3 separate regions of the Homo sapiens genome follow, and regions 1 and 2 are each linked to region 3. The links are contacts of gene promoters, found by promoter capture Hi-C in blood cells and fetal thymus (Javierre and others, 2016). All regions are on one chromosome and are shown on one strand. The core of a region is centred on a gene start or on the middle of the fragment in contact, and the rest is flanking DNA. Distances in the headings are between cores, read along the strand shown.

What was found. Contacts are between HindIII fragments. The CHiCAGO score rates a contact against its expected background, and 5 or more counts as called.
Region 1: a fragment that was not itself captured here is called in contact with the fragment with the promoter of SCAI in region 3 in 4 of 17 cell types (naive CD4 T cells, total CD4 T cells, erythroblasts and 1 more); the score reaches 6.0 in naive CD4 T cells.
Region 2: a fragment that was not itself captured here is called in contact with the fragment with the promoter of SCAI in region 3 in 2 of 17 cell types (naive CD8 T cells and total B cells); the score reaches 6.2 in naive CD8 T cells.

What each region holds. Positions count from the first base shown.
Region 1 is chr9:124,870,496-124,873,195 of GRCh38, forward strand. All of the region lies in intron 3 of ARPC5L (actin related protein 2/3 complex subunit 5 like), which reads left to right. Among named protein-coding and RNA genes, the nearest start is that of ARPC5L, 9.7 kb to the left of the region's middle. RefSeq lists enhancers at 351-400, 2,039-2,539, 2,237-2,466. The HindIII fragment of the contact is 2,332 bases long and covers 110-2,441 here.
Region 2 is chr9:124,760,244-124,762,943 of GRCh38, forward strand. The region is part of intron 1 of NR6A1 (nuclear receptor subfamily 6 group A member 1); the gene reads right to left. LOC124900274 (a long non-coding RNA gene) reads right to left here. Exons shown (of 2, transcript XR_007061773.1): 1 at 1-2,700. Among named protein-coding and RNA genes, the nearest start is that of NR6A1, 9.7 kb to the right of the region's middle. RefSeq lists enhancers at 283-838, 839-1,393. The HindIII fragment of the contact is 564 bases long and covers 1,106-1,669 here.
Region 3 is chr9:125,142,173-125,144,872 of GRCh38, forward strand. It overlaps SCAI (suppressor of cancer cell invasion), which reads right to left and starts at 1,356. Exons shown (of 18, transcript NM_001144877.3): 1 at 1,213-1,356; 2 at 461-505. The coding sequence starts at 1,265. RefSeq lists a silencer at 975-1,474. The HindIII fragment of the contact is 9,654 bases long and covers 1-2,700 here.

The DNA.
Region 1 (2,700 bases), core at 26-2,525, 270 kb before region 3:
GGGGCCTGCTGCTTTAGGGGGAGCCCGGCAGTGCTCCTGAGTGTGCCTTTAAACCGAAAACCTTCAGACTTGATTTGAACAGGAATGTGTTTTCCGAAGTGGAGATTCAAGCTTGTAATTCCTGCCCCATCAGGATCTCCCAATCCACCCTCCTTATGAAATGGGGTCAAGGGAAGGGTCCCCAGGAGGGAAGGTTGGTTGTAGTCTGGTGTAGGGCCTAGTTCATGGACAGTCAGTGCTGAAAGGGGCTCCAGGGTCAGGCCTTTGGCCCAGGACTCTCATTGAACAGATGAGATCAAGCCTGTCAGCTGCTGCCTTGGTCTGGGTGCAGAACCTTGTTGAAGGTCATGTCTTGGGACTCCCCTGCCTGGTGACAGGTTCCTTGAGGCTGCTTAGAGGCCTGGGCTTAGCACATCCAGGGGATGGTCGTTTCTCCATTCATGGCAGCGTCAGAAGCGTCAGAAACCTTGTTACCATGGAGAGTGCTCCACTTGGGGTTGGGGAAAGGGAGGTTAACGGATAAAGGTAACTGAAACCCTGGCAAATACGGGGCCCAGGTGGAGGAGAATGGAACTGATATTTATTGAGTCTCTATCATGTACCAAGAATCGGACTTATATTAGACCATTGAGGACAGGGGAGCAGGGAGAGGGATAGATGGATTGGGGTTGGGGAGGGCAGAGAGGGGCCCTGTCCTGGGGCTGTATAGGGAAGTGTGTGTGGCAGGAGATGACACAGATGGAGTAGAAGGAACCCGGCTGTGCATCTGCGCACACCCTGCACTACCATGCTCTGGCTCTGTGACCTCGGATAGGTCGCATACCCTTTCACAACTCAGCATCTTCTGTTACGTGGCGGACAGCCATGCTGGCTTCCTAGATTCCGTGGGAGCCTCATGGGCTAACATCAGCATCACTGGGCACACAGCAAGTGTCCTGGACATGCAGCTCGGGTCTGCAGATAGAGCGGCAGCATGGGATTGTGGGAGGAGCTTGGGTGTGAGGGCCGTGTAGACAGCTTAGTTTTGTGACCTTGCGCAGGTAATTTCTGTTCTCTGAGCCTCAATTCCATTGCCTTTAAAATGAGATAATGATTATTGTCACAAGGATTTTTGGAATGAGATGGCGTGTGAAAGCACCTGGCACAGGATCCGAGACCTTGTGGCGATTTAAAAGTATGAGTTCCTTTCCCCTTCAGTGAAGCAGCTTCTATACTTCTGGATCAGGGCTCTGTCCAGAGCAGTGGTTGTGAGCGATTTTGCACCCTTCCCCTCCACCCCCAGGAAACTGGAGACATTTTGATGGTTACAGCTTGGGGATGCCACTGGAATCCAGTGGGCAGAGGCCTATGACACACAGCTAAGATCCCACGTCAGAGAATCCTGGGTCCACAGTGTCAGTTGTGCCGTGATTGAGGAAGATCTAGAGGAGATCAAGGGCTGGGCAGGATTCCCTCAGCACCACAGCCTGTTCTCTGAAAAGGCCTAAAGCCAGCCAAGTATGACAGCCGGCTTCACAAATGATAGGTGACTTCAGGGAGGTCCTCCCTGCGCCCCACATCTCCCAACTGCTGAAGGCCCTCACCCATCAATGGGCCGAGTGATTGCTGGACGCGTGGTGCTGAGTTAACGCCACAGCAGTAGCTTTTTGCCCCCGTGGACTAGTTTTATACCTGCCCTTCCCCATCCATCATTTGAATGATGTCATTTGTTAGTTGTGCCAGGTTTACATGAAGAGCAAGTGAGCCTATGTTTTCTGTTCAGCCTATGGGATCCTGCTTATTGCTTTGGGGACACCACATTAGAAAAGAGTTACAAGGGCTGGGCGCGGTGGCTCACACCTGTAATCCCAGCACTTTGGGGAGGCCGAGGCGGACAGATCACGAGGTCAGGAGATCGAGACCATCCTGGCTAACACAGTGAAACCCCGCCTCTACTAAAAATACAAAAAAAATTAGCTGGGCGTGCTGGCGGGCGCCTGTCGTCCCAGCTACTCAGGAGGCTGAGGCAGGAGAATGGCATGAACCTGGGAGGCGGAGCTTGCAGTGAGGCAATATTGCGCCACTGCACTCCAGCCTGGGCGACAGAGCGAGACTCCGTCTCAAAAAAAAAAAGGAGTTACAAAGTAGAGGTTATCAGTGGCTGATATCAGGCTGGCCTTGTTTGGATGGGGAAAAGGAACTCCAGAACTGAAAGACAGAGGGACTGGACTGCCTCTTGAGTGTGGAAGGTGGATCAGAGCCAAGCAGGGAGCTGGGGAACCAGCGCTGGGAGTGGCTTGCCTGGTGGCGCAGACCCAGCTCACTCAAGATGGATCTCATACTGGGGAAGCCAGGAGATTCAGCTCTGCTCCGAAGGCCCTTCCTGTCTGCACGTGGGTATCACTGCATGAAGAGGAGTAGAGACCCGATTGGGCAGAAGCCATTCCTTGTTCTATTTTTGAAGCTTTTTGGCTGAAGCCAGTGTTTCATACGAGGAAATGAAAGTTGGCTGATGTAATTCAGTTTAAAATAGGTGTCACCTTTGGGGACCTAACCCAGATTGTAATTTTCTTTTGCATGCTGGGTATTCAGAACTCAGCAAAGAATGTGTTGTCAGGATTGCAACTGAGGTTGGGGGGTAAGGGTGGAGACTGGCTCATTGTTGGCAAAAGCTTCTGTTAGATTGATAAACTCTTTCCAGGTAACAGTTGGGACCTCATT
Region 2 (2,700 bases), core at 138-2,637, 380 kb before region 3:
GGAGGCTGCAGTGAGCCAAGATCTCGCCACTGCACTCCAGCCTGGGAGACAGAGTGAGACTCCAACTAAAAAAAAATAAATAAATAAAAATAAAAATAAAATAAAAGCCAGCATGAGAGAAAAGAAAAAAGTCACTTGCAATTCTAAGAGTGGGTCTTTTTGGCTCTCTAATCAATAAAAGTTGAATTCTGGGCCTCTCCAACATAGATAAATGCCCCAGATTCTCAGGTTTTTGCTTTTAGGCAGATACTATGCTTGGCAATTTACAGACCTTGTCTCTAATCCTTATAACCCTACAGTCAATTTCAGAAATGTCAGAGTATATTGGAGAAGAGGGGATGTTAAATCTATGAAACAAATTATTAATGCTGTTACTAGCTGCGAAATCTGGAGGTTTAAACTCTGTGGGTCTCAGTTTTCTCCTGTAAGATGGGGATAACAGAACACCTACCTCAGAGTTAAGACGATAAATATACATAAGGTGTTTAGATTATAAACACTATGTAAATGTTAGCTATTAATGTTAAATGAGAACACTAAAGTTCAGAGAAGTCAAGTGACAAAGTCGCATAGCTGTGATCTTTGTTAGGCCACACTCCAGAGTCCCTGCTCTTTGCCTCACACCATCTAACCAAAATCCTTCCTCCCTGGATGGGACTACTATTGCCATTTCCAAAAAACAAAGCCCTCTAAATGCATGTCAATGGGGGGCTTCCCCCAGGTGGTTTATTATCCTGCTAAAAAGGCATCTTGGGGGAAGGATTCCAAGAATAGAGAGAGGAAGTCTCCTGACAGGTTAGACTTCAAGGGTACAGAAAGAATATGGAAGAAAAAAGCCAAATCTGTCTCAGTTATTAGGTTTCGTAATTAAAGCAATTTAACTCAACTGAAGAATGCAATTGAAGATTTCACATGAATCTTCAAATCCAAACATTAAGAAATAAAAGAAAGGCTTGTATTTTCTTATAACTAAGCTGCAATCCCCACAAAACACAAAAATGTTTTCAAAGGTACATTACATGAAACTCCAAGAATATCAAGATAATTAGAGCTCTTAGGAAGGAAGCCCAAATAATTATCTCACTGATCTTTCAACACCTATCCAAGCTTCACCTTGAGTTCTGATGCGGTAACTCCTTATTTGTTATTCACATTGTTATGTGACATTTCTTCAGCCAGCAAGCCCACTACAGGATGAGTTCTACCTAGTAACTACCCTAAGGAGTAAATTTCTAACTCTTTAACAACACAGTAATTGACTTACACTAAAATGTTACTCACACTAGGAAAGGATATTCTTCGACCAGAGGAAGAGATGCCTCTCCTATACAGACTTTATTACCATCTCAGTGAAAACCAGGTTAAAAGCAAACCAATTTACAAAACTGCATTACCGAAATCACAACTCTAAGACTCAGTGAAGCCAAACATGTCTAAGGAAAGCAAATAAGCAAACTATTCTTGATGGAAGTTTTAAAAAGCACGATAGGATCTTTATCTCTTATAAATTGTTCATTATTCTATAGCAATGACTCTTAAGAAATTCTGTTGTCAGATTTATTTCCACAAATGTAAGTCTACCCTTGGTGAGGCAACTGGTTCTCTTGAAAAACTGCTGCCACAAGACAATTATCAGTTAAGCAACAGGTTTCATGTAGCAGGTAACAAAAGCTTTATCAGAGAACTCAGTGAGAGTGCACTACCACACATTTCATGTATTCCCAAGCAAAGAAAACTTAAAATGATATGAACTCATTTTCAATAAAAGTAGCTCAATTATCGAGGGAAGTAAGAAAACTCCAAAGTAAAAAAAGTACTACTAATGGTATCTGGTGAAGTCACCATCTTCTTTACACATTTCGTTAGTTCATTTAGACCTGGAGTTCTCATATATTTATGCCTGAGTGTTCTTCAGGATCCCTTTTACACTCTTAAAAATTATGAAGGACCCTAAAGGGTTGATATTTATGTGGCTTTGTCTATTGATATTTATCATACTGGAAAATAAACCTATGAAAAATTTAAAATATTTGATAATCCATTTAAATTTAATAAATTCACGTTAGTACAAATAACATTTTTATGAAAAATAAAATTGTCCAATAAAACATAAAAATTAGAAGAGTGGCATTGTTTTACATTTTGCTAATCTCCTTAATATCTGGCTTAATCCTAGCAGCTAGATCTCCTATCTGTTTACCCATTCAGTATATTGTGATTTTTTGTTGTTGTTGAAGCACAGGCAGAAAATCTGGCCCCACAGATTTATAATCGGAAAAGGAAGAAGTATTTGCTTTTTAAAGTAATTGTGGATAGTCTTCTTTGATACTACACCAAAACTCAATTAAGTGGTACTTTCTTAAAGGTTAGTTCAGTGTGAGTTTAAAACCATATCAATGAACTATGTGTAATCCGTTACATTAAAATCCATTGATCAATCTGGCATTTTGAACAGATCTCTTAGCTGTGTAGGATCCTGTAATATCACACATAGATCTTTTGGAAAATACTGAATTACTGAGATATTCAGATTTTCAAAATGTTGACACATTTCATAACATCGAAAATCATATTTATTTCATCATCCATCTCATCAGAAGACATTAATCATTGGGAAGCTGTCAAGCTCTTAGTGGCAAGTACAAGTTTTCCAAAACTAATTGTTGCTTGAAAGCTCAAATTTTATTTACTGGCAACCAA
Region 3 (2,700 bases), core at 106-2,605:
TCAATTTTTTGTAGAGACGGAGTCTTGCTCTGTTGCCCAGACTGGTCTTGAACTCCCAGGCTCAAATGATCCTCCTGCCTCAGCCTCCCAAAGAGCTGGGATTGAAGGCATGAGCCACCCCAGCCAAGATGAGCTTTTTAAACAGAGATGCTGGAGAAAATGAAATTATGGCTAAGGTTAAAAAAAAAAATAGCTGAGATCCTTACACAACATCAAAAAGTAAAAAAGTAGGATTTCTCAAGATTTCCCACATTATCTTAGATACCAAGAAAAAAAAAATCGACTGTAGAGGTAGTAATTTGAAGTCCTCAAAAGAAAAATCATGCATGTGGTTATATTCTTTTAAAAGGGGGATAAATAAGAAACTTCATCTACTGACAGTATACAATTATGCAGTACGGCACAGGTGCAGCCAAGCAAAAAGAAAAACATGAAGCAAAATAGGAAGGCACTGCCTTACCTGCTTCTCCGTTTTCGAGGCGGTTTCTCCACTGTGCCAGTCAGTCTGCAGACCAAACAAATAAGACGGTAACTAAAAGTAACATACAAGAAAACATCTCCCGGCGCTACCGTGCCAGTCAAGAACTAAATAGACCACCCTCTGGGACCACAGGCTCGCCAAGCCCAGATCTGACCTTACAAACGCCTCATGCCCTGTTTCCCCTATTTACCAAGACCTAGCATTCCTGGGACTCACCGTTCCCCCAATTCCCCCTGAGCTCAAACCTTCCTGGTCCCTCACCCCATCCTCGACCCCTGCTCGTCACAGCCCAGCTCCCCAAAATCACCCACCTCCACCTACTCATTGTCTGCCTCGTCACCCCCGCAAGCCCCCCTAGCCTCCCCTTTCCTGTGCCCACCCGTTCCCGACCGTGCACTGCCCCCTCCACGCCCCGCCTCTCCGGGCCCGGCGACCCCCGCATTCCACGGCCCCTCCGGGGGCGCGCCCGCCTTGCCCCTCCCGGCCCCGCGCCGCCAGCCTCACCCCTCGGCGCCCCTTCCCTCACACGCCCCTCTCACCTGGCCTCGAGGAGGCGATCGCGCCCAGCCCGCGCCGCCGCCTGCAGGCGCCCCCAAGGTCCCCCCAGCCTGCACCCCCCGCCCCTCCGGTCTCTGCGCCCCGAATGCTCCACCGCCCCGAGCCGCTGCCCCTGGGCCCGCTCCCTGGCCCCCACCCCATCCCCAACCCCGGCCTCCACCCAGCCCCCGCACCTGGGGGCCAGGCGACTCCGCGGCTGCTGGGGCTGCCGGGCTCCTCTGACCATCCGGCTCCTGCTCCGCCGCGGGAGCTGCTCCGGCGGCCGCAGGGCTCGCTCGGGAAGCTGAGGCGGCGGAGGCTGGAGTAGGCGGAGAGGCGGGAGGAGGGCCTCGCGCCTCTGCCAGGCTTGCCGCGGGGCCCGCCTCCTCCGCGCCTCTCCTCGGCTCCCATTGGCTAGAGCAGTAGTGTGGACGGAAATCTGTCAGTCGATTGGACGCTCGGCCCGTCACATCCCGCGCTGCCCACCCAGAGGTTTGGTTGAGACTGCAGGTGGCGGCGGAGGTGCCTTAGAGATTGCTAGCAGGGCCGGAGGAGACCCTAGCGCCACCATGCGTCTAAAAGTAGGAACTGCACCCCCGGCTCCAGACACCTGCCCCAGGTTCTCCTGGCTCTGCGTCCTGCATACCACACACCTGCTGGCGCCCCTCCACCTCTGCACCACGCCAGGACCGAAAACAAGCCCTGAAATCTCCCAATTTCTTCTAGCAGGTGAGACAGTGAGGCAACTCTCACAAACGTGTTTCCTTTTAAGCCACCTCGAATGCGATCCTTGTCCCTACATCTTGCTGAAATTGTCTCACAGCTCACAGCTACCCCTCAAAAAGGACCCAGCCAGAAAACTCTAAGAATCCACCAAAATAAAGCATGGTTTGGATGCTCAATCCTCTGCAGAAAAGCTCACTAGCTTGGGTGCAGGCTTTTAAGAAAGTAAGATTTTTTTTTAATTACCATGAAAGAAAAATCAGCACTACAAACAGAACCAATGCCATACTAAAAGCAACGTGTTCCATTTTGAAAGGCCTGGACAAATTTGATCCCTGAATGGAAGCTGACCATCCTGATTGTGTGACCATTGCAAGTTCTACACCAATTAATCAATTTTAAAATAAATTGTACTGTATTTTTTGACAAACAGGCATGCAAAACTGCCTTTCATAAGCATAGTTACCCTTCTTCTGCTTTAACAAAGCCATCCTTGAAAATAAGACTCAGCTCATTAACGTATTATAAAATTCTTGAAGGTGGGAAGGCCTCTCTAAATCTCTACTCCTGTGTGAACTTGTTTGGTATATTCTCAGCATCTGTTCAGAGTTGGGAGGAGGCATAAAACTTTCTCTTAAGTCACTTCCATTTTATTAGAACATCTTTTATGCCTCAATAATATGACAGCGTCGAGTAGTACATGTCAACATTGGGGTGGGGAAAATCTCTCATTGATCTCCATAAGCGGCAAAAATTAGGATACTAGTTTTTCACAAAACCAAATGTATTTGGTGTAAAGAGTTGTCTTTTCTTCTGAGATGGTCCTACCTACATCTTTAATGGTAAAATGACTTTCCATTTATGAAGTAATACTGACGGTAAATTGTAGTAGGAATTGAAAAATTGCTTTGAAAAAATGTCAAATCTCTGTTGGTCCCCCAAATTAGTATTTCACGTAA